Regions from separate parts of the Homo sapiens genome. Here all the other regions are linked to region 1. Evidence: promoter capture Hi-C in 16 types of primary human blood cells and fetal thymus (Javierre and others, 2016). All regions are on one chromosome and are shown on one strand. Each heading gives the region's core, a stretch centred on a gene start or on the middle of the fragment in contact. The rest is flanking DNA. Distances are from core to core; before and after follow the strand shown.

What was found. The method cuts DNA at HindIII sites, captures the fragments that hold promoters and counts their contacts. A CHiCAGO score of 5 or more calls a contact.
Region 2: a contact is called between a fragment that was not itself captured here and the fragment with the promoter of MORC4 in region 1, in 2 of 17 cell types (M2 macrophages and M0 macrophages). The highest score is 5.5, in M2 macrophages.
Region 3: the fragment with the promoter of FRMPD3-AS1 here is called in contact with the fragment with the promoter of MORC4 in region 1 in 2 of 17 cell types (total CD8 T cells and naive CD8 T cells); the score reaches 6.0 in total CD8 T cells.

What each region holds. Positions count from the first base shown.
Region 1 is chrX:106,998,938-107,002,614 of GRCh38, forward strand. It overlaps MORC4 (MORC family CW-type zinc finger 4), which reads right to left and starts at 1,275. Exons shown (of 17, transcript NM_024657.5): 1 at 931-1,275; 2 at 740-812. The coding sequence starts at 1,032. RefSeq lists silencers at 1,040-1,249, 1,260-1,339. The HindIII fragment of the contact is 4,977 bases long and covers 1-3,677 here.
Region 2 is chrX:107,524,862-107,528,467 of GRCh38, forward strand. FRMPD3 (FERM and PDZ domain containing 3) reads left to right here. Exons shown (of 15, transcript NM_001388459.1): 2 at 1,721-1,875. The coding sequence starts at 1,728. The region is part of intron 1 of FRMPD3-AS1 (FRMPD3 antisense RNA 1); the gene reads right to left. Among named protein-coding and RNA genes, the nearest start is that of FRMPD3-AS1, 19 kb to the right of the region's middle. The HindIII fragment of the contact is 1,498 bases long and covers 632-2,129 here.
Region 3 is chrX:107,544,564-107,547,908 of GRCh38, forward strand. It overlaps FRMPD3-AS1 (FRMPD3 antisense RNA 1), which reads right to left and starts at 1,258. Exons shown (of 2, transcript NR_046750.1): 1 at 1,152-1,258. FRMPD3 (FERM and PDZ domain containing 3) reads left to right here. Exons shown (of 15, transcript NM_001388459.1): 5 at 1,174-1,278. The HindIII fragment of the contact is 5,600 bases long and covers 1-3,345 here.

The DNA of each region.
Region 1 (3,677 bases), core at 25-2,524:
AAAGCATGTATAATGCGCCCTGTATGCTGCTGCGTTTTGTGCAGGACTGCGTTTCTTCTTTGCTTTCCACACAGTAGCACACTACTGCAAAAACTGGTGTAATTGGCTTGAAGGGATCAACTGAAAACACTTTAAAAGCAAACACCGGTGGAGCGAGAGGTTAAGTCCTCAATATTCATTCCAGCGGTGTGAGGGCGCTCGTGGACCACGGACCCAGCCCTCCGCAGTAGCAGGGAGCCAAATGCACTCGTGTCATCTCTTAAGAGATGTCCCATCATTCCTAACTTTTCTTGTCTCAAAAGTTAAGGAACTCCGCTTTCCAGACCTTTCCCCAGGACCCGCCTCGGTCCTCTACGCCCCTTTGCTAGCTAGGCATCCTCCGTCGGTCGCCAGCCCCTGCGGACCCAGCTGCCTCAGGGCCCGAGGTTTTTATGCATCTCCTTTTGATTACTAACTAAGCTATCCTAAAGTGCCCGAACGTCACGAGCGCGAGAGAAAAACCACACTGGTGTCTTTAACGCTTCAGACACACCTCGTTTCCTCCGTTTTATGAGCGGAACCTAGTTCCTGGCGAGAGAGCCATCCCCCTCCTCCGCCTGCGGAGCCGGGGCCGGTTCCGAGGCCCCCACCCCAGCCCCGGCCCGCCCCGCGCGGCTCTGCGCATTCCTCTCGCGTCCGCGGCACCACGCTGGCACCACTGCCTCGGGCGAACACGGCCGGGCCCGCCCTCGCCACTCACCTAGCAGCTCCGCGATGGCACTGAAGGGTCGCGTGTGGCTGCTGGAGTTGCTCTGGAGGTAGCGGGGGCTCATCTGGGGGCGAGAGAAGGTCCCGACCCGCGTGAGGCCTCGGCCCGCCGGGCCCTCCCCGCGCGCCCCCCGCAGCCCAGGGGCCCGCGCGCGCGTCCGCCCCCTCGGGCCCCGGACCTACCGTGCTCAGGCGGATCCCGAAGGCCTGCGGGCCGCCGCCGGGCCGGGCCAGCCCGCAGCCCGGCGCGCCAGGGCCGGCGGGGGCCCCTCGGTACAGGAGCATTTTTTTGGCCGCCACGGTACCCGTCTGCTGCCGCCGGACCCCTGGCCCGGCGGTCCGGGACTAGCCCTCGCTCACTTCCACTCGCAGCTGGCGGCGACCGTCCGGGACCGGCCCTCCCTCGCTCCCACTCGCAGCTGGCGGAGGCGGAGCGCGCTCCAGCCACCTGTCCCGGGCGGGAGGGGTGAGGCCGGCTGAGGCAAGCGGCGGCTCCGCCCTGTCAGCACCTCTACCGACCCGGCGACTGCCCGGGCTGCCTCTGGGCCGTACAGAAATATGGCGACCTCCTGACAGCCGCTCCTTGATCCCCGCCCCTAATTAATTATTGGCGTATGCCATAGGCCAGGCCGCCGAGCGGGAAAGCGCGGGGGGCGGGGGTGGCGCGTGGGGAGGGGCGTGAATGAAGCAAGAGGAGGGAGAGCATGTATGGGATTTCTGGAACCTAGTCCCGCTTAGGCTGCATGACTAACAGGCAAGATAAGACAAGTCTTTCAAGTTCTAAAGACTACAGTGTTGCTATCTGGGAAGATAGCAAGCTCGCCTGATGGGAAAACATTCTACCTACTCTGCCTCAAATGCCTCCAGAAGCACCCAGAACTTTCTGGAAGGCAATTAGCAAACTATCTCCAAAGTCTTGCTAGCATGCAGGGACGGTGTTTCTAAAAGGAGAAATTGGATTCACTTAAATACCGCCAAGTAGGGGATTGGTCGAGTTATGAAGTATGCATAAAATGAAATACCATCCAGTTCTTGAAGGCCATGTTTGTAGATAAGTATGTGTTGATGTAGAAAAATATTCATGAAGGAATGAAGAAAACAAGGAGTTACAACATATTGTGGAACGCATGATGCCTTTTCTATTGGAAAAACAAATATATATGTATACATATATACATATATATATATGCATGCATACACACATATACACATACATACATACATATATATATACACACACACACACACAACGAAAACCACTTGATATACACCAAGATGATATCTCTGGGTCTGGAACTAGACACTTTTTCCTTTTTTCTTACCTGTGTTTTCTAATATACTATAAATATACACTGATAATAGAAAAACAGATTCATTAAAAACATATGTAATGTTCTATGGCATGAATGAACTATAATTTATTTGACCATTCCTTTATGGTAATTTAGGTTGTCCTCTTTTTTTAATTTTGACAATACAAAAAATGCTCCTTCACACACTCGTGTACAGGTCATTAATTTCTGATACTGTTATCTCCACAGAATGAATTCCAAAAGATGAGACTGCTGCATCTAATAGCATGTGCATGGTTTAATCTTAATAAATACTGTAAGATAGGCAATTTGCCCTCCCAGCAACAATCAGTGCTCTTTTGTCATGTTCATAGCACTAGATGGTCCCAATCTTTTAACTTTTTGATAGTCTTTTCAATAAAAAATAGTATCTCCTTATTGTTTTAATTTGCATTTTCCTGACTACCAGTAAGGCTGAATATCTTTTCAAATGTTTAGTATACATTTGCATCTCCTCTTCTACAAATGCCTGTTTATGTCCTTTGAGCATCATTTTTTACCCCCATTGGGTGCTTTACATTTGTCTGTTTTTTAGTTATCTTTTCTTCAATTTTTTAAAATACACAAAAGTACAGAAAACAATATAATGAATCCCATGTACTTATTACTCAGATGCAGTAATTATCAAGACTGCCACACCTGCTGCAATGGACTGAACATTTGTGCCCCGCCAAAATTTGTATGTTGAAATCCTAACTCCCAATATGATGGTATTAGGTATTGGGATTAGGAGTTGGGGCCTTTGCCAAGTAATTAGGTCATAAGGGTGGAACCCTCATGATGGGATTAGTGCCTCATAAAAAGGACCCCAGAAAGCTCTCTCATCCTCTTTCTTCCATGAGGACTCAAGAAAGGGTCTGAATTCTGCAACCCAGAAGAGAGACCGTACCAGAACCTGATCATCTGCTGTTAATACGCAACCTAGTCTATGGTACTTTGTTAACAGCAGCCAGATCTGACTAAGGCACTTGTTTTCTATATCCCTTTTCTTCTTTTTCTTTTTCTTTTCTTTTTTTTTTTTTTCCATTTCTGTAAGCTGTGAGCATTTCAGGGCAAATCTCAAACATCATGCCATTTTATTTTACATACTTCAGTGTTCTTTAGAAACATGGACATTTTCTAACAAACATAACCACCATGCCACTTTTATACCAAACAAAATTTATACTAATTCTTTGTTGTCTTCTAATACCCAGACTTTTTTTTTTTTTTTTTTTTTTTTGAGACAGGGCCTTGCTGTGTCACCCAGGCTTTAGTGCAGTGGTACGATCTTGGCTCACTGCAGCCTTGACCTCCTGGGACCAAGCAATCCTCCCAACTCAGCTTCCTGAGTAGCTGGGGCTACAGGCACATGCCATCACACCCAGGTCATTTTTTTACTTTTTATATTTTCTAGAGACGAGGTTTTGCCACGTTGCCCAGGCTGGTCTCAAGCTCCTGGGCTCATGCAATCTACCTGATTTGGCCTCCCAAAGTGCTGGGATTACAGGCGCAAGCCACTTTGCTTGGCCCAGTCCATATTCAGATTTCCCCCAATTGTCTCGGAAATGTCTGCTTACAGTTGGTTTGTTTAAATCT
Region 2 (3,606 bases), core at 131-2,630, 530 kb after region 1:
ACACGCCTGTAATCCCAGCTACTCTCCTGGAGCCTGAGGCAGGAGAATCGCTTGAACCTGGGAGGTGGAGGTTGCAGTGAGCCGAGATCGTGCCACTGCACTCCAGCTGGCGTAACAGAGGGAGACTCCATCTCAAAAAAAAAAAAAAAAAAAAAAAAAAGAATTGCATTGCTCTCAGAATGTCAAAACCTCCTACTTCTTTTACAAACCTTATACTAGTTTCATTAATTAGCTACTGGCCCTCTGTATCTTGTTCCAAAGGGCTCTGCCTGGAACCATAATTTTAGCAAATACACATACTGAGGCTAGAAAACTTAAACCCGTCTATCTAGAAGGCCTAAAATTCTGGGGCTGTAGTGGTGCCAGATGAGTGAGCTAAGGCTCTGGGCCACTTGGCCCTGGCCCTCTCTCCTCCATCTCCACCTGCCCTGCCCTTCTCCTTGACCATCCATTCCTCCTTTTACCTTCTTCCCTGGCCTTGGCACCAGTGCTATCACAGGCCTCAGTGTCTCTACACCCTTATCCTTCAGTGCTCTTTGTTTGAATACTACACTCAGACCCCTTCTTGCCTGCAGTATGCCTCCCCTGGCCCTTGATGGAGAACATTTATGAAGCTTTTGTGGAATTCCTAAGCTTTAGTTACTTAAGTTGTGGAAATCGGGAGAACAATGTGTAATCTCTCCCTGGAGTTAGGGCAGTAATTTCTCTTCTCCCAGTTCCTCTGGGCTTTCAGGCCTGCTGGCAGCCCCAGGATGCAGCTCCCCTTCTGGCCAACAGGAACTCTTTTCCAGGTGTCTCATTAACTGAAAGAAGTTGGCATTATGGACAATTTTGGTCCCAGACATTAGCACATTTATTTATATATGCTACTTAAATCATTTATTTTTGTATACAACTTAAGATGTATTCAAGTTTAAAATTGCATCAAGATGAGCCAGGCATGGTGGCTCACGCCTGTAATCCCAGCACTTTGGGAGGCTGAGGTGAGAGGATCACTTGAGGCCAGGAGTTCGAGACCAGCCTGGCCAACATGGCGAAACCCCACCTCTACTAAAAATACAAAAATTAGCCAGGCGTGGTGGCACATGCCTGTAGTCCCAGCTACTCGGGAGGCTGAGGCAGGAGAATCGCTTGACCCCGGGAGGTGGAGGTTGCAGTGAGCCAAGATCGTGTCACTGCACTCCAGCCTGGGTGACAGAGTGAGACTCTGTCTCAAAAAAAATAAAAATTAAAAAAAAAATTTAAAATATTGCATCAGGGCTTCATGAAGATGCTCCATCTTCTGGAACAACTTTACATTTCTTCCGCCACTTACTTGCCTGTCTTGTGGTCTCTTCCTGCAAGGCTTTGGTTTCCTTTACGGAGTTAATAGCTAAGTCAGTGGAGGATGACAGTTAACTTCTGCAGAATATTTGCATTGGGTTCCTTCTGGAGTTCCAATATCTGAGAGGAAGGGTCTGACTCTAATTTCAGGCTCATGACGTCAGTTTCTTCTATTGGCTGTAGCCCTGAAGACAGTAGCTTCTACTTTCTAGATTTCTCTTTCTCCAATCTGAAATATGAGGCAGTCATCATCTCTGTTGGCTCCAGAGGATGTAGGAAGCTAAGCTGTAAACTCCTGGGTGCCAGGGCCAGAACCCTAACTGGCATCTCTCCCTGCTGGTTCTGAGGCTTAGTTCCCTGTGCATCTTGTTTTGCTCCCACCTTCCCTTTTCCCCAGTCATGTGATGCAGGAAGAGAGCGCAAATGATATGGAATGTGAGCAGCTGCCAGCAGAGATACTGCGACAAGTGACCGTTCACCGAGACCCTATATATGGCTTTGGCTTCGTGGCTGGCAGTGAGAGGCCTGTGGTGGTTCGATCTGTGAGGCCAGGTAGGTGTCCCTCAGAGTGTTCCCCTAGCCCTGACTCCTGTCTCCCAACACCCACATATCTTCCCAAAAAGCAGAGCTTCCAAGCATTCTAACTGTCTTGCTGAAGAATTCATGAAGACTGGTTGAAGACTTGCCAACCAATAACTGTGTGAGGGAGCTGGCCTTTTAAGACTGATAGACACAACAATTGAGGCTGTTTGGGGCCCTAGAAAAAGGCTGCAGTTGATTGTTTAACAGTGTCTGGGTCTTAATAAAGCTTCCCTTTGCATAGAACATTCATAAAAGAACCATAATGTCTTGCAAAAAAAAAATGTACCTATTCTATTTAATTCAACAAGTATCTATAGATTGCCTACTCTAAGCCCAGCAATGTTGTCGGGAAGTACAAGACACAGTTCCTGTTCTCAAGAACCTAACCATCAGGCTGTGGAGACATGTATATACTCATGAAACAGGTCAGCCATTGAAGACCAGAATCAAGATACAGACCACAGGTGGGATAGGAGAGGAGAGGATAATGGAATCTCTGAATGCTTGAGTGGCAGTAACAAACATCTACCATTGATTAAGCATCTACAATGTGCTTTACATCATATTGTTTAATTCTCACAGCCACCCCTGCAAAGTAAATAAGTAATATCATTCCCATTTTGCAAACGAGGAAACTGAGGCATAATGAAAGAGAAGTGGCTTGTCCAGTGTCACTCAGCTATAAAGCAACAGAGCCAGGGTTTGCACCTGGGCCTGTTTGATGCCATGCAGGGGAAGTAGGGCCTGAAAGGGACCATGTGGGATGGAACAAGCAAAGCCCCACCTAAGCTATGAAGCCCTGCTATCATGAATGAAATGGAAAAAGACTGAAGTACTGTTTTGTTTCGAATCTGCTAGGCATTGACAAAAAAGACAGACGGAATGGAGCTTTATTCCTGACTTGCTGGGCCTGAGGCTTTAGATGTTTACAACAGTTTCTCGCTCAGTCAAGAGGAGCAGCCAGAGTACAAACTGGTCTTGCAGAAATTTGATGAATTTTGCAATCCTCCAAGGGAAAGAAAAAGATTTTTGTAAGCTCTCTCTTCAACTAGAGGGCACAGAGGAAAAAAAACACACACACACACAACAACAACAATTTAGTACAGGAGTCCGTGGCTGACCTAAGGCTCTGGAGTCAGCCATGCAGTTTGGCAAAAAGGTTTTGAATCTCTGATCAGAAATCAGAGGAAAGGGGGACCAGCTAACATTCAGTAATAGACCACCAGGAGCCCCTACTTTAACTTCAAATGAGACAGAATCTGCACAGCTGAAGGAAGCCCCCAGGCCTAGAGGGGTTCAGCTGCCAAAGGTATAACAATGAAGAAGGAGTTGGAGGGGTCAAGAGAAGAAAATCCCCAGGCACGAACCACAAAAAGCCATGGGGCTGGCATGCATAGCCCTATAAAAGCCCTATAAAAAGCTGATCCGTAGTGCTGCTTCTGGCCCAGGTGGCTCCTGAATGCACAGGACTTGTTTGGTTCTTTATTTGAGGCCGTAATAAAGACAAAAAAAGTGTCCTACAGAGGAGCAATTATGGTTGATCAAGCCAACAAACCATTTGTGAAAGCAGTAGTAGACTGATGTTACCGGTACCATCAAAGGGCCAAGGCCCATAAAGGAGGTTGAGTTCCATGAGGACCTCTTCTGTTAGACGGAAGAAAGGGAGGGGAGGGAAGGGAAGAAGAAGATAGATAGAGTGGC
Region 3 (3,345 bases), core at 8-2,507, 550 kb after region 1:
ACCTAGAACAGTGTGTGGCATGTAGTAGGCCCTTGCTAAATTTGTCAAAAGAATGAATAAACGCCCCCCCAAAGACAATGAGGATGCCCCTCAGCACGACTCCTGTATTCCTAATTGCTGGGCCTTACAGAGCTCAGCAGGGAGCTAGAATCCAAGGGGCACCCAGGAAAGGCTTAGTTTCCAGTGTTTGCTAATCATGCTTCTGATAAAATTGTGGGAGAGTTTTCAAGAACTAAAAAGCCAGCCAGGCATGGTGGCCTGTAAGCCCAGTACTTTGGGAGGCTGAGGCAGGTGGATCACCTAAGGTCAGGAGTTCAAGACCAGCCTGGCCAACATGGTGAGACCCCATCTCTACTAAAAATACAAAATTAGCTGGGTGTGGTGGCACATGACTGTAATCCCAGCTACTCAGGAGGCAAGGCTGGAGAATCGCTTGAACCCAGGGAGCGGAGGTTGCAGTGAGCCGAGATTGCACCATTGCACTCCAGCCTAGGCGACAAGAGTGAAACTCCGTCTAAAAATAAATAAATAAATACAAGCCTGGCTGATTTTTTGGGCATTTCTTACAGAATTGGATAAACAAAGTGGTGCAGAGCCCAAAACTAGAAAGCCAGAAGACTTGGGTTAAATCTCTCACATCTCTATTCCCCAATAGTGTAGTAACTGTGGATAAATCCTTTTGGAGTGCTAGGTCTCCTTTCTCCCACATCTAAAATAGTATTTATTATGCAACTCCTTCCTAGGGGCAGGACATGTCTGTGAGGTGAACAAGATCATTTCTGTAAATTATTTGGGATGCTTATATTCAGATATAATAATAATAATAAAAAGACACCCTTTAGGTCTATCTCACTGTAAGAAAACCAAATATATAAAAACTCAATGTATGTTATTACTAAAGAACTTTTGCAAACTCCCCTAGGCCTAGAGTATTAATAATGGGGTTCAATCTACCCAAATTCAATTCATGCCCAGCTGTTTCAGAACACACCAATTACATAGGGAAGCATTTAGCACATTGCCTTGCAACTAATAGGTAATTAATATTTGTTTATTGACTCCTTGATCAGTAATGCAAAGTGTACCTGTACTGGGACATCTTAACTCTGACGTGACAAAGGTTAGGCTTTCCCTAGATATGGAGAACTCACCATCTCTCTGTTCTTTTTCCAGTCCCCCAAATCTGCTTTCATCAGTGCTGCGAAGAAGGCCAAGTTGAGGTCCAATCCTGTGAAGGTTCGATTTTCTGAGCAGGTGGCAGTTGGAGAAACAGATGCAGTAAGTGTAGCTTTGGCTCCCTCTCCTCAGCCCCTGGCCATAATCTGCCTGGCTGTCAAGCTCTCGCTCTGGGGCTTCTTATAGTGGACAGCTTTCCGAATGGGTTAGAGTGGGAGCGTCCAGGTGCTGGAGGGGGAAAAGTAGTGAGTGAAGAGGGATACGTGACATCCAGAGAGGCCCCAGGCATTGTGGGGAGAAGGAATATATATTGATTCACTCAAGATCCTTCTGATGCTTAGAGAAATTTCCATCCCTAACACAGTAGCTTACACTCAAAGCAAGTGCTCCATAAACATCTTTTGCTACTTGATAGAAACAGGAAGGAAATAATGGCTTCCTGAAGACTCAGGGAATGAGTGGCTGGTGAAATTGAGCTCTCTTCACATTTAAGTGATCTTGCAACTCCACATCTTGACCAGAAAAGGCCATGCAGTGGTGAGTAAAGTTGCCTAAAGGAAATGATACAGACTCTCATTAAGTCACCAAGTTTTTATTAGGCACCTGCTATGTTCTTAGCACCAGAGGGGAGGCAAAATAAATACCTGTTCCCTGCTACCAGATACCTCTCAGCAATGTTGAGGGGGACAAGAGGTTCAGATTGAGACAATACAAAATCTACTACGGGGTGGTATTGTTTCGAAAGACAGGTAATATTTGACAGCCCATGCCATGCAGCTGCCAATTTGGGGAGTCTTGGCCAGCCACAGTGTTTCTCACTGCTTTGGGAGGTTTACATGCAGTGAACTGTCGGCTCCAGATGTGCAAATGAGAAGAGGCAGGTGAAGAGCAGAAAAGAAGTGTGTTAAGCAGTCATGCATTCTGGCCGAGTCCTTCAGGAATCTGCAGAAGTTAGTGATAACCTGGTGGGGACAGAGGGGATAGCTAGAGCTAACAGGCACTTGTGTGCTTTTGATAGCTGTGATGGGCAGAGCTGTCTGGAGGCCCTTGGCATTTACGTACTGAGGAACAGCCACAGTTGTTGGGAGAAGATAGCAGGCCCAGAGCAGGGAAATCAGCAGGGTGCCAGGCGCTTCTATATTATTTAAGGCAGAATTAGTGAGAAGAAGGTATAGAGGACACAGGTGTCTTCCATCTCCATTTCCCTGACTCTCATTCCCAAACTCAGTCTATGCCCTCCTCCATCTCTGCATGAGGAAGGCTGGCAAACCCAGGGGACTACAGGACCCCACTGGGCAAGCTGTCTGAATAATTGATGGTTGGGATCTGTGTCAATCCTAGAAGAAAAGTTTTAAGAGAAGTGATCATTGATGAGCAGAGGGGAAAAGGAGTAATATGGAGTCCCTGCAAATCAGGGTGAAACAGACCCCGAGGTCCAAGTCACCAGGAGGATATGTGTGTCCTGAATGCTTGAAAACCCAGAGGACGTATGACTTGGATTTGGTAAGTATGAACAGGCTTATCCTATGCCATCTCAACATTGCAGAGTAATCAGTCAAGGGCAGGCCACCCAGTGAAGAACTCCTTCCCTTCCTCCCCACTCCCCTCCCCTCTCTTCTCTTCCTCTCCCTTCTACTTCCCCTTCTCCACTTTCTCCTTCTTCCACCATGATTCCCCTCTCCATACGTCACAGCTAGGTTACAGGCACAGCTAGTCTACAGGCGTAACGATGCCCCCCACTCCAGTCTATTCTGAATGCAAATGCCACAGAGTAGCTAGGACCCACCTAGAGTGACCTCATTCTCTCGGACAGGCCACCAGGCATAGTGTGAGGCTCTTGTCTGGGTGAGAGACAGACATCAATCTTCCAACTCTCACTGCACTCGTGAAATTACCTGGTGTTACAACATCACCCTCCTCCATGCTGCCGCCAGTATGGACCATAGCAGCCTCATCACAGGTCGGGAGCCGGGGGAGTCCAGGCCCAAGTGACTCCAGGCTCTCCTATCAACCCTTTCCTTTCGTGTTCCAAGGCTTTATTAAGCAGCCAGAGCAAAAATAAATCCTGTGGGTGATCCTTGCCAGCTCTATTTTTAAGCAAATTCAATTAAGTAATTATCTGAGTCCAACCCAGTGTGCTAAATAAAACCTGCCACCACTGGGATCCGG